Linked DNA regions of Homo sapiens: regions 2 and 3 are each linked to region 1. The links are contacts of gene promoters, found by promoter capture Hi-C in blood cells and fetal thymus (Javierre and others, 2016). All regions are on one chromosome and are shown on one strand. The core of a region is centred on a gene start or on the middle of the fragment in contact, and the rest is flanking DNA. Distances in the headings are between cores, read along the strand shown. Region 1 holds the start of AMER1 (APC membrane recruitment protein 1). Region 2 overlaps ZC3H12B (zinc finger CCCH-type containing 12B). Region 3 overlaps ZC3H12B (zinc finger CCCH-type containing 12B).

The links. Contacts are between HindIII fragments. The CHiCAGO score rates a contact against its expected background, and 5 or more counts as called.
Region 2: a fragment that was not itself captured here is called in contact with the fragment with the promoter of AMER1 in region 1 in 7 of 17 cell types (naive CD4 T cells, naive CD8 T cells, total CD8 T cells and 4 more); the score reaches 7.9 in naive CD4 T cells.
Region 3: a fragment that was not itself captured here is called in contact with the fragment with the promoter of AMER1 in region 1 in 1 of 17 cell types (total B cells); the score reaches 5.1 in total B cells.

The regions. Positions count from the first base shown.
Region 1 is chrX:64,204,014-64,208,070 of GRCh38, reverse strand. It overlaps AMER1 (APC membrane recruitment protein 1), which reads left to right and starts at 2,363. Exons shown (of 2, transcript NM_152424.4): 1 at 2,363-2,501. It overlaps LOC112268307, which reads right to left and starts at 2,125. Exons shown (of 4, transcript XM_047442706.1): 1 at 1,987-2,125; 2 at 1,031-1,089. The coding sequence starts at 2,052. RefSeq lists an enhancer at 1,827-1,986 and silencers at 2,117-2,216, 3,197-3,256. The HindIII fragment of the contact is 4,951 bases long and covers 1-4,057 here.
Region 2 is chrX:65,506,760-65,510,816 of GRCh38, reverse strand. It overlaps ZC3H12B (zinc finger CCCH-type containing 12B), which reads right to left. Exons shown (of 10, transcript NM_001010888.4): 10 at 2,930-4,057. Among named protein-coding and RNA genes, the nearest start is that of LAS1L, 26 kb to the left of the region's middle. The HindIII fragment of the contact is 4,163 bases long and covers 169-4,057 here.
Region 3 is chrX:65,402,878-65,406,934 of GRCh38, reverse strand. The region is part of intron 5 of ZC3H12B (zinc finger CCCH-type containing 12B); the gene reads right to left. Among named protein-coding and RNA genes, the nearest start is that of LAS1L, 130 kb to the left of the region's middle. The HindIII fragment of the contact is 3,588 bases long and covers 512-4,057 here.

The sequences.
Region 1 (4,057 bases), core at 1,114-3,613:
AACAAGAAGCTGTGTTGTCCCCTCCCACATCTTTTCCCCTTTAATACACACATACAGTATCCTCCCAAGACTCAGTAATATCTGGACCATAAAGAAGGGTGCTCAGCTGGGAGTTCTCTAGGATCACAAAGAATATTTTTTTTCCTGAAGCCCCATTTCTTTTGGGTTTAGCTCAATTTCTCACGAATTGTTCCTCCCACACTAGTCACTCCAAAAACTGACTGGTGTGACAGAATGTTTGGTGGCTGGGCAGAAGGCATAGAAGACTAGCCCCTGTGACAGGAGCAGCACAATAGTGCCTGGGACTATTTCAAGCCTGCCACCTGACTACTTTGCACACCTCCTCTCTCCCTGCTTCCACAACTGAGACTGCTCTGGCCCTTTGTTTCCCTGGACCCCAGGTTTGCAAACTGCCTTCTCATAATCTTAGTCTAATTCAAAGAATCAAGGTTCTGAGTGAAATGTGAGCAAGTGGCAGTGACCAGAGGCACGAGGTAGGGAGGAAGTCTATAATGGAGATTCTGGAAAAGAAAATAAACTTCCAAATCAGGCCCACAAATGAGAATCAGGACTTTGCAAAGCAGGAAAGCATAGCCCCAGGGAAACTTTTATAGTCCAGCCATCCAGATGGGAAAAAAGTTGCATAATGAGCCAGCAGCAGCTCCCTACTCCTCATCGTTTATTTAGACTCAGTACTAGGATGGGAGTCTGATGTTCAATATTGATTTTTGTTGGCAATGTATAGAATGCCATGGAAGGTCATGGAACATCTATATTTTCTATAATATTCCGTGGAAGATCATGGAATATTATAGAAAAAAATGAGTTGAACTGTCAGATCTCAAAGATATCAAGGGAGCCTGATGATGCTTACCCTCTCCTTGTGGAGGTGGGGTGATGCCCTGGCCCAGAGAAAAAAATGAATTGGCCAAGGTGTCCAGCAAGTCTGAGGTAGAGCTAGAGTCAGATCCCTAGCAGCCATGTCAGTTCCTGTGCTCTACACATGCAGAGGCAGCAGTCCACCTCTTACCAGTTCAGCAGCTGGATCTTTTCAAGACTGTCAGGACCCAGAAGCAGCAGAGAACACTCCTGCAATGCAAAAATAGCACGCATTGTTCTCTAATCCTTCTCTCTATCCTCAGCTTTAATCCACCCACCTCCCTTTTTAGACACACACAGAGTTTTAGGGCTGGGCCTTCTGGATATTCTTGAACTAGTGGTGGAACTAGATTCTTTGCTGCCTCAGCTCACCTGGCCCTGGCAGCCACTGATGCCACTTAATGTCCTTAGGCTAGAGACCCAAGTTCGCCGGGCTCCCTGCCACATCCCACACACAGTAGCAGACAAGGCTGGTACAGGCCTCCTCACTTTGTCCTCAGCCTGACCTCCGGTTTGGGCCCAGACAAGATTTTCCTCTCAATATTTAGACTTTTCAAGGAAAAAGGCCTGCCGAAAGCCAGGCTCACAAAGGATGGGGGAAGGGGGACTCTGGAGACCTTGGGGATTCCCTCCACATTCCATAGAAGGTGCGAAATTTGGGTGAGGGTCAAACTATGGAAACAGGTATCATCTCAGAGAAGAAAAGTGAAAGCAATCCTGGAAAGGGAGCCCGGGGCTCTGGATTCCAAATTGGCCCTTGTCGCCGGCAGGCTGGGTAACTGTGGGGAGGGACTTTCCCCACTCTGGGCAGCAGAGGGCCCGTCGGTAACGGGTGGAAGTTGGCCTCTATGGTCTCTAAGGGCACTGGTGTGCCAGAGAGGCGGACGAAGTTAGGGCGCAGGCGCTGCAGCTAGCTTTCCTGGCAGGTGAGTCCCTCCTCTGGGTGGCCTGGCGGCGCGATCCGCAGGGCCTTGTCTCTACGACTAAGGATAGGCCGGCCCTTAGGTTTCTGCAGTCTTCCCAGATTCCTCAACCTCTCTGCCTCGTTACTCCCCGCCGGCCTCTAGCTCAGGAATAAACGTCCTGGTGGCGGCCAGGGCACAGTACCGCGAATGCACAGCGGCCACAGAAATGGGAGTGCGTGAAAACCGAAACCGATCCGGCGAGCCCCATCCGGGCAGGACTGGCTCCTTGAGGCCACGGTGTAGCCACGCCACTACCAGCCCGGCGTGGGGGCGGGAGTGGGGAGCCCCAGCCAGTGGTTCCGCACCCTCTCCGCCCCCTGCCAACACCACGCCTGCACTTATTTGCATTTAAAGAGAAACGCACCAAGGAAAACAGTGGGCGGGCCGGGGCACGCCTTCCCACCATAGCGATTGGGCCATATGCCTGCCAATCAGGACGCAGATGCCCCACCCGGTGGCCTTGGAGTACTGGGGGAGGGGGTATGGGGGAGCTACCCAAAGCCTGGGGAAGGGGAGTCAGTGCTGGAGGTGACTGGAGCCGCGGCGACGGCGGCAGCAGCTGCGGTGGCGGCGCTCTCAGCCGTGGCAGCCGAGGCTGCAGCCCGGCCCAGGGCGGCTCAGCGGACAATAACCGGGCTAGGAACCTGACCGGGCTGGGTAAGCGTTGCGTACAGCCAGGAGCCTCCGCCTGCCCGCGGTCGGGTGCATTCCCGCGTGCTCTGCTCCTACGGACTGGAGGAGGGCACTAAGGACTAGGCGGGTCGGAGTCCCGGTCGCTCGCCCCTCTCCTTTGGAACCCGCTTTGCGGACTGTCGGGTGGAGAGGCAGAGCGGCCTTGAGTCCCCTGGGCACAAGCGACCACGGCTGGGGGGAGGGGGGTTGGGGAGGGCGGGTAGGAAGGCAGGCTAGCCTGGGCCAAGCCTCCCGGCTTTCGGGGGGGCGGGGATGGGCCCGCACGTGCTGCCGCACAGTCCCGGGAAGGGCGCCGCCAGCCAGCACCCCAAGCCATGCATTTGTAGGCCAGGAGCTCTGCAGCTTTGTTGTAGCACATTTGCTGGAACAGCTGTGTAACGCGGGTACCGCTCACCCCTCTCTCCGGCTGCCTGGCTGCCGCCCCTCCCCTCCCCTGTGCATCTCCAGCCTCTCCCTCCTTTCTGCGGACTCAAGCTGGCGTGCTGGCTTGGGCCCGACGGAGACCGGCTTTGGCGTGGATTGGGACATCCACAGACTGCCCCCTCCCCAGAGGAGCTCAGTTGGGCCTGTGGGCTGAGCTCAGTCGCACACTTCCCTTCAGAACCTTGGCCTTGTGGCCCCAACTAGCCGCGCCCCTCCTCCTGGGCCTCCGGGCGCATCTGGCGCCCGCCCCCGCGGTCGGGCAGGCTGGCTGGCAGCCGGGCTCTTGCTGGTCCTTGGGTTAGAGCAGCGGCGCAAGCTAGTCCTTGAGTTAGAGCTGCAAGGCCGCTTTGTCTCCCGCCTCGCCTCGCCTCACCTCCTTTTCCCTTGGAGGATACTGGCCGCGTTTTCCTCTCCAGCCTCCCGTTTAAAAATAGCAATAGGCACGGTGTTTGGGGGGCATTTCCTTGCCAGAGGCCGAAGGAGCCCTCATTGTAGTACGGAACGTATCATACCATCTCTGTGTACAGGAGAGCTAGCGAGGTGGCCAAACCCTCCAACTTCGCAGTTACTTAACATACCCAGCCCGCCAGGCCCCTGTCATTGTCTGCTGGAGACACTTCTGACACTGGTGACCGCCCGAACGCTGGACTTTGCTTGGCTCCCCCGGTGGTGAGGGGCTGTGCCCGCTACATGCGTCACAGCCCAAGCGCCTAGGCGGCAGCTGGACTGGCCCCGCAGAGCTGGTCTCCGTTTGGCCAGGCTGCTTTCGGCAAGGGCCGCGGGGTCAAGGCGAGCCTTGTTCCACACACAAACATCTTCCTCTGCGGCTCTGCCTGCCTGCTGCAGCGGCGTGGGCATGGGCAAGGCAGAGGGCACTGCACTGTTGGACTGCCTGCCCCACCGGGATTCCAGCAGAGCCCCCTCCCCCAGTGTGGCTCCCCTCATTCGGCACCACCCACTGCACAGTCACTGCACCATGGTGCACCTCTGGCAGTGGGCTCTCTAGGCCTTTTTGAGGAATAGGACAGAGGAAGCCACTGGGGGCTTGGTAAGCTCTTGGACCTTTGATTAACCTCTGGTGTGGAGAGCCCTGTGGG
Region 2 (4,057 bases), core at 1,001-3,500, 1.3 Mb before region 1:
AACTGTCAATATCACCTGGGCACTTGTTAGAAATGCAAATTATTGGACCCTATTCCTGACCTGAATCAGAAAGGGTGAGATTGGACAGCAATCTTTGGCTTAGCAAGCCCTTAAAATGATTCTGATGCACACTGAGGTTTCAGATGCACTGGTATACAGGAAAAAGCTTGCCAAAGACCTGGGTTCCAGGCAAGCTCCACCGCTTAAGAGGAGCAACCTTGGGCAAATCATGCCACAGTTTTTTTCACTTGCAGGGAGATAATATTTGCCTCACATGCTTGTAAGGATTGAAACAGACAATAGATGGGAAAGTGTTGTCTAAAGCATATCATGCTTTGTATGTGTGAGTGGTGTAGGTTCATGTGAGGGTTGGTAAGCCTTGAAATTGGGACTCCGGTCTCTATATAAATGACCCATTGTCATGCTTTCCCCTGGCCCTCAAAGACTGATCTAAAGATGAGGAGCAGACTACATGAGCTCATTTCTAGTCCAGGTCCAGAGAGTAAGAGCCAAGGGTCATTGTTGGCTGGTATCCTGGAACCTGGGAGTTCTGAGGCCAGGTTGAAGGGCTTCAGATGGCAAGGATTGGTGGGTGGGGAGTGGAGCTGTCAGGAAGCAACCTTACTTAGCCTAGTGCCCATGGACCTTTTCTTTCTGATTAGAGATAAGAGACTGATTAGAAAGTCTGAACTGCACACAATTTTCATTTTTGTTTTTATTTTTGGAGACAAGGTCTTGCTCTGTTGCACAGGCTTGAATGCAGTGGCACAATCATGGGCCACTGCAGCCTCCAATTACTGGGGTCAAGCAATCCTCCCACCTCAGCCTCCTGAGTAGCTGGGACTACAGGTGTTCACCACCACACCTGGCTACTTTTTGAATTTTTTGTAGAGACGGGTCCTCCTGTATTGCTCAGGCTGGTCTCAAACTCCTGGCCTCAAGTGATTTTCCTGTCTCAGCCTCTATAGTGCTGGAATTATAGGTGTGAGCCACCGTCCCCAGCCTGAAATGCACACTTCTTTTAACTGGGAAACAGGGATAGGGGTCAAGGAAAGGGAGCATAGATTATCTTATTGTTCAACAACAGTAATTCAGAGATTCCCCCCGATAGGTAATTCATCAGTGGCAAAGAACATGGCTCCCGTGCCCAAGGAACTCCCTGTTTTGTGGTAGAGACGGTGTGCCAAAGTGAGTGACAAGAGCTAAGAGGTATTGCTCAATATTCCTACAAGGCCCACTGTTGGGAGGGACTAACAGTAGCTTGACCGGGGGTTGGACAGCTTGATAGAGGAGGTGAAATTGGCACTGGGTCTTCAAAGGCAAGACTACTAGTCAGAACAAGGAGTAGAAGGAAGGTCAAAGTCTGGAGAGGTTGAGAAAGCATGGTTGGGGGCACCAATGCAGGGTACAGGATAATTGGAACATGGTGATATGAAGGACTTGGTATTACATGAGGCCTGAGGGGAGGTGGAGAGGGATATGACCAGACTAGTTCATTTTCCACCTGAGATTAGGGCAGAAGCACTGGATGTTTGTTGATTGTCCCGTCTTGGAATTCTAGTTGTTCTTACCACTCTCTTTACCCTCATGCTGCCACTGCCCTCCAAGGAAGTCTTAATGTCTTACTTTATTCTCTGAGTGTGCTTCATTCCCCCCCTGAGTGCAAGTTCCCCAAGATGGACTATTCCTCTTCTGCCTGCCTAGCTTAGTATAGGCCAGACCCCTATCCCGTACTCAGTAAGAACTTGATACATGTATGCCCGAGGAATGTGACAGGAAGAGTAAGAGACAGAACAGGAAAAAGGTGGGGAGAGATAAGCACTCTTAGTCCTGTGGAGGATGATAACAAAAAAAGATTCTCAGATTCACAAATAGCCTCTTCTAAAGGCTCGTAGACTGGGCTCTGCTGCAACCATCATGGCTACCTCTACCTTTAGAATGAGACTGGCCTGGAGTGCGGTGGAGGGTGGGTAGGAGGCTTCAGAGAGAAGAAGAACCAACTCCACTATGATAAAGGGCTTACCAGCCTGGGAGTCATGAGGCCTGGGCTTCCAGTACCTGCCTTTGCCACTAATTCTGTTTGGCCTTGGTCAAATCTCTTCAGTGCTCTTGGAGCCTCAGTTCACGCACTATACCCTGAAGGGGTTGATGCAGCTGAGCGCTCTGAGTGTGAAGTGTAGGATAGTAGGCTCCTTTTGGCTCTGATATTCTGGCTGAGACAGCAGATGATGTATTTTTGGACCTGAGGCTATTCAGGGGAGAAACTACAGGCTGCGTACAAAAATTAAGTCTGGGCCCTGGGCCCGCCACTTGGTTCTGACTGGTGGGCAAAAGCAGGCCCAGCCCTGCCCTGCGGGGAGCACCAGTTCGATTAGCACTTGGAACTGTTTGTTAGTCTTCAAAATTTTGAGGACATATACTTACTGTGGTAAAATTCAGATGAACACATTTGGGGAAATCCCTGCCTTTATAGTTTTTAATCTCAAAATATAAGTCGCAAGGACATAAATCTAATACTTTAGGAGCAAACTAGAGTATATGTAGTATATGTATATGTATGTGTGGCATGGCTTTTGTTGTTGTTGTTTTTTGTTTCTTTGTTTTGTTTTTTGAGATGGAATCTCACTCTGTCGTCCAGGCTGGAGTGCAGTAGCATGATCTCGGCTCACTGCAACCTCCAAGTCTTGGATTCAAGCAATTCTCCTGCCTCAGCCTCCCGAGGAGCTGGGATTACAGGTGCGTGCCATGACACCAGGCTAATTTTTGTATTTTTAGTAGAGACAGGGTTTCGCCAGTTGGCCAGGCTGGTCTCCAACTCCTGACCTCAGGTGATCCGCCTGCTTCGCCTCCCAAAGTGCTGGGATTACAGGCATGAGCCACCATGCCCGGCCCATTGTTGTTGGTATTCTTAAAGAAACAGAGCCATGAGTGGTTAGTACACAAATAGTTTATGCAGTAAATAACTGTGGTTACAGTTCATTGTTGTCAGCAATACAGCATTTTCCATCACAATTATAGGTGAAACAAAACCTCATGAAGTAGTCATAGCACATTCATGCTAGCGAGAGCATATTACAAAGCAATGCACGTGCATTATAGGGGCAGACAAAACTGGGGAAGGGCTATATTTTCACTCACCTCTGGTTAACTTTGTGTATTTTGTCATTAAGACTTACATTATGTTTGGGTCAAACAAAAAACCCAAAGAGATTTTATAAAAGTTTACAACCATTAAACAGTATTGTTTAATCCCACAAATGGATAAAGCAAACTACTATAGCTCAACAATACACAAACCAGGACTAAAAATAGTCAATCTATGTATATAGCTAGCTACCATACAATAGATATTGAATATGCTGAGTCTTTACAAAGGCATTGACTATTTTAGACGAGCAGGTTCCAGAAATACACTTGTTTGTTTCCAATGAGAACTAACTGTAGTGCCATTTCAGTTGAAGACTATGCACTCCTCAGTGTCAGACGTGAGGATAAGCAAACTAGGGGAAGGCAGAGGAGGGTTAGGAGGGAGACCTGAGCGGACTCTTTGGACAGCTCAGCATTACTTTCTCTGTGCAGATCCAGACCTGGTTCACAAAGTAGAACAAAGTGTATTGAAATTTTTGGCCCTCAAAAAGGGCATTTGTACAAAGTCCCATACTTACAGCACAGATTGAATGGTAACTGAGTGCCTCTCAAAATGAACTCTTCTATGTTAGAAGAAAACTCAGGGCCAAAGGTTAATGGAAATCAGTGTTTGAATTACTGTATAAAGATAATTTATTCCAAAATAGAAAAAAATGAATTTTAGAGAAGTATTCTCCTGGAAACTAGCAGGGGGTGGGCAGAGAGAGAGAGAGAGAGGGAGAGAGAATCATGCTATGTGTTTTATTACTTAGAAGAAGAAAAGTTTTGTAGACCATTTCCATAAGGCATCTGTCATTCTCCCATACCTGGCACCTTAAGAGAGAGTGCAATGGCTCGATATTACCTTTGAAAAGGCTTCTTTTCCTTTGAGTTGTCTTACAGAAAGGGTGCCCTGGATTGACCATGCCAC
Region 3 (4,057 bases), core at 1,056-3,555, 1.2 Mb before region 1:
GGCGGGCAAACTCTGCCGGCGAGTCCGGAGTAGTCACAGCGGTGCGGCCAGCGGAGATTTTGGTCGCCGCGGGACGACGGAGGTCCGGGCTGGTGGCGCGGGTCCCGCCCGGCCGTGCGAGGGTGGGGTGGCGCAGTCGGCTGCCTCCGGGACGCAGAGCACAGAGTACCCGCCGCTGCTTCTGCTGCTGCTGCTCCTGCAGCCGCCGCTCCTACCGCCGCCGCCGCCGCCCGCGCCTCTGGCGTGGGTTACACTAACACGCGGTTTCACACTCAGGAGCTAACCAGCGCCGGCCCCGCCCGGCCCCGCCCAGTCCCGCCCAGCCCCGCCCAGCCCCGCCCAGCCCCGCCCAGCCCCGCCCAGCCCCGTTCAGCCCCGATCGGGCGGGGGACGCTAGCCCGCAGCCCTATATAGCTTTTATTATGTTGAGGTATGTTCTTTCTATCCCCTGTTTTATGAGAGCTTTTTTTTTTTTTTAATCATGAAGGGATGTTGAATTTTATCAAAAGCTTTTTGGCATCAGTTGAAATAATCATATGGTTTTTATGCTTCATTCCTGTTGCTATGATGTATCGCATTGATTGATTTGCATATGTTGGACCATCCTTGCATCCCAGGGATGAATCCCACTTGGTCATGATGAATTTTTTTTTTTTAATGTAACATTGAATTCGGTTTTGCTAGTATTTTGTTGAGGATTTTTGCATCGATATTCATCAGAGATATTGAACTGTAGTTTTCTTTTTTTGTTGTGTCTTTGTCTGGTTTTGGTTTCAGGGTAATGCTGACTTCATATAATGAATTTAGAAGTATTTTCTGTTCTTCTATTTTTCGCAATAGTTTTAGTAGGATGGGTACCAGTTCTCTTTAAATGTTTGTGGAAATCAGCAGTGAAGCCACTGGGTCCCTAGCTTTTCTTTACTAAGAGACTTCTTAATATGGCTTTGATCTTATTACTTGTTATTGGTCTGTTCAGGTTTTGGATTTCTTTCTGGTTCAATCTTGATAGGTTGTATGTACCTAGAAATTTGTCCATTTCTTCTAGATTTTCCAACTCATTGGCATATATTTGCTCATCATAGCCACAAATGATCTTTGAATTTCTGCAGTATCAGTTGTAATGTCTCCTTTTTCATTTCTAATGCTTTTATTTGAATCTTCTCTCCTTTTATTAGTAAGTTTGGCTAAAGTTTTGTCAATTTTGTTTTACTTTTCAAAAAACCAACTTTTTGTTTCATTGATCTTTTGTATTATTTTCCTCATTTTAAATTCATTTATTTGTTTTAATCTTTATTTTATTATTATTATTATTTCTGAGATGGAGTCTCCTTCTGTCACCCAGGCGGGAGTGCAGTGCTGCTATCTTGGCTCACGGCAGCCTCCGCCTCCTGGGTTTGAGTGATTCTCTTGCCTCAGCCTGCAGAGTAGCTGGGATTACAGGCACCTGTCACCACGCCTGGCTAATTTTTGTATTTTTAGTAGAGACAGGGTTTCACCACGTTGGCCAGGCTGGTCTCAAACTCCTGACTTGAATTGATCCGCCTGCCTCGGCCTCCCAAAGTGCTGGGACTACAGGCGTGAGCCACCACACCCAGCCTATTAGTTCTTTTCTCCTACTAATTTTAGGTTTGGTTTGCTTTTGCTTTTCTATTTCTTTAAGATGTATCATTAGATTGTTTATTTGAAGTTATTCCTCTTTTTTGATGTAGGGACTTACAGCTATAAACTTCCCTCTTAGTACTGCTTTTGCTGTATCCCATAGATTTTGGTATGTTGTGTTTCCATTGTCTTTTGTTTTAAGAAGTTTACAAAAATTGTTTCATCGACCCACTCGTCATTCAGGAACATATTGTTTAACTTCCATGTGTTTGTATAGTTTCCCAAATTTATCTTATCATTAATTTCTAATTTTATTTTATTGTGGTCAGAGAAGATGCTTGATGTTATCTCAATTTTGTTGAATGTTTTCAGACTTTTTTGACCTATCATATGGTCTATTTTAAAGAATAATCCATGTGCTGAAGAAAAGAATGTGTATTCTGCCACCAACAGATAAAATGTTCTGTAAGTATCTATTAGATTCATTTGATCTATACTGCAGATCAAGTCTGATGTTTCTTTGTTGATTTTCTGTCTTGACGATCTGTCCAATGCTGGGAGTGGGGTGTTGAAGTCTCCAGATATTATTGTATTGGGAACTATCTCTCTCTTTAGCTCTAATAATGTTTCCTTTACTTATCTAGGGGCTCTAGTGTTGGGTGCATATATATTTAAAATTGATATATCCTCTTACTGAATTTACCCCTTTATCATTATATAGTAACTTTCTTTGTCTCTTCTTATAGTTTTTGTCCTGAAATCTATTTTGTTTGATATAAGTATAGCTACTCCTGATCATTTATTGTTTCCATTGGCATGGAATGTCTTTTCCATCACTTTTCTTTTAATCTATTTGTGTCTTTATAGGTAAAGTGTGTTTCTAGTAGGCAACAGAATCTTGTTTTTAATACACTCAGCCACTCTATTTATTTCGATTGTAGACTTTAGTTCATTTACAGTCAACATTATTATTGATAAAGACTTACTCCTGCCATTTTGTTATTTGTTTTTTGGCGTTATTTCTTTATTTTCTTCCTTTAGTGAAGGCGATTTTCCCTGGTGATATGATTTATCTTGCTTTTTGTTTTTCTGTTTCCATTGTAATTTTTTTTGTTGTTTGTTTGAGGTTACTGTGAGGCTTGCACCTGCTATCTTATAACCCGGTAACTACTCAACCCGGTTTTCATAAACAAATAAAGAAACAAAAAGAAAACTAACACAAAATTCTATGCCATAACTTTATTTTCAAGTTTTTTAACTTTTTTGTTTCTATTTAGATCTTATTGTACTGTCTATGTCTTAAGAAGTTGTTGTAGTTATTATTTTTGTTTGGTTCATCATTTAGTTTTTCTAGCTAGCATTTTAGTTGATTACATATCACAGTTGCAGTATTATAACACTGAAGTATTCGGTGTTTTTTTCTGTGCACTTACTATTACCCATGAGTTTTGTACCTTCAGATGATTTCTTGTTTCTCATTAATGTCTTTTTCTTTCTGATTGATGTACTCCCTTAAACATTTCCCATAGGACAGGTCTCTTATGAATGAAATCCCTCAGCTTTTGTTAGTCTGTGGAAGTCTTTATTTCTCCTTCATGATTGAAGGGAATTTTTGCCATATATACTATTCTAGGGTAACAGTTTTTTCCCTTCAACACTTTAAATATGTCATGTCACACTCTCTTGGCCTGTAAGGTTTCCACTGAAAAGTCTGCTGTCAGACATATTGCAGCTCCATTGTATTTGTGTCTTTTTTCTTGCTGCTTTAAGCATCCTTTTTTTATCCTTGGTCTTTGAAAGTTTGATTATTAAATGCCTTGAGGTAGTCTTTGAGTTAAATATGCTTGGAGATATATAACTTTCTTGTATTTGAGTGTTAATAACTTTCTCTAGGTTTGAAAATATCTCTTTTATTATCCTGTTGAATAAACTTTGTACCCCTATCTCTTCCTCTATCTCATTTTTAAGGCCAATAACTCTTAACTTTGACATTTTGAGGCTGTTTTCTAGATCCTGTAGGCATGCTTTACTGTTTTATATTCTTTTCTCTTTTGTCTCCCCTAGCAGTGTATTTTCAAATAGTCTGTCGTCAAGCTCACTCTTTCTTCTTGATCAATTCTGCTATTAAGAGACTCTGATGCATTCTTCAGCATGCCAGTTGTACTTTTTAGATCCAGAATTTCTGCTTGATTTTTAAAATTATTTCAATCTCTGAAAAATTAATCTGATAAAATTCTGAATTTCTTCTCTGTGTTATCTTGAGTTTCTTTGAGTTTCCTCAACACAGCTATTTTGAATTCCCTGTCTGAAAAGTCACATATCTCTGTTTCTCCAAGATTGATCCCTGGTGCCTTATTTAGTTCATTTGGTGAGGTTATGCTTTCCTGGGTGGTGTTGATGCTAGTAAATATTCTTTGGTGTCTGGACATTGAAGTGATTGATATTGAATTTTAGTTTT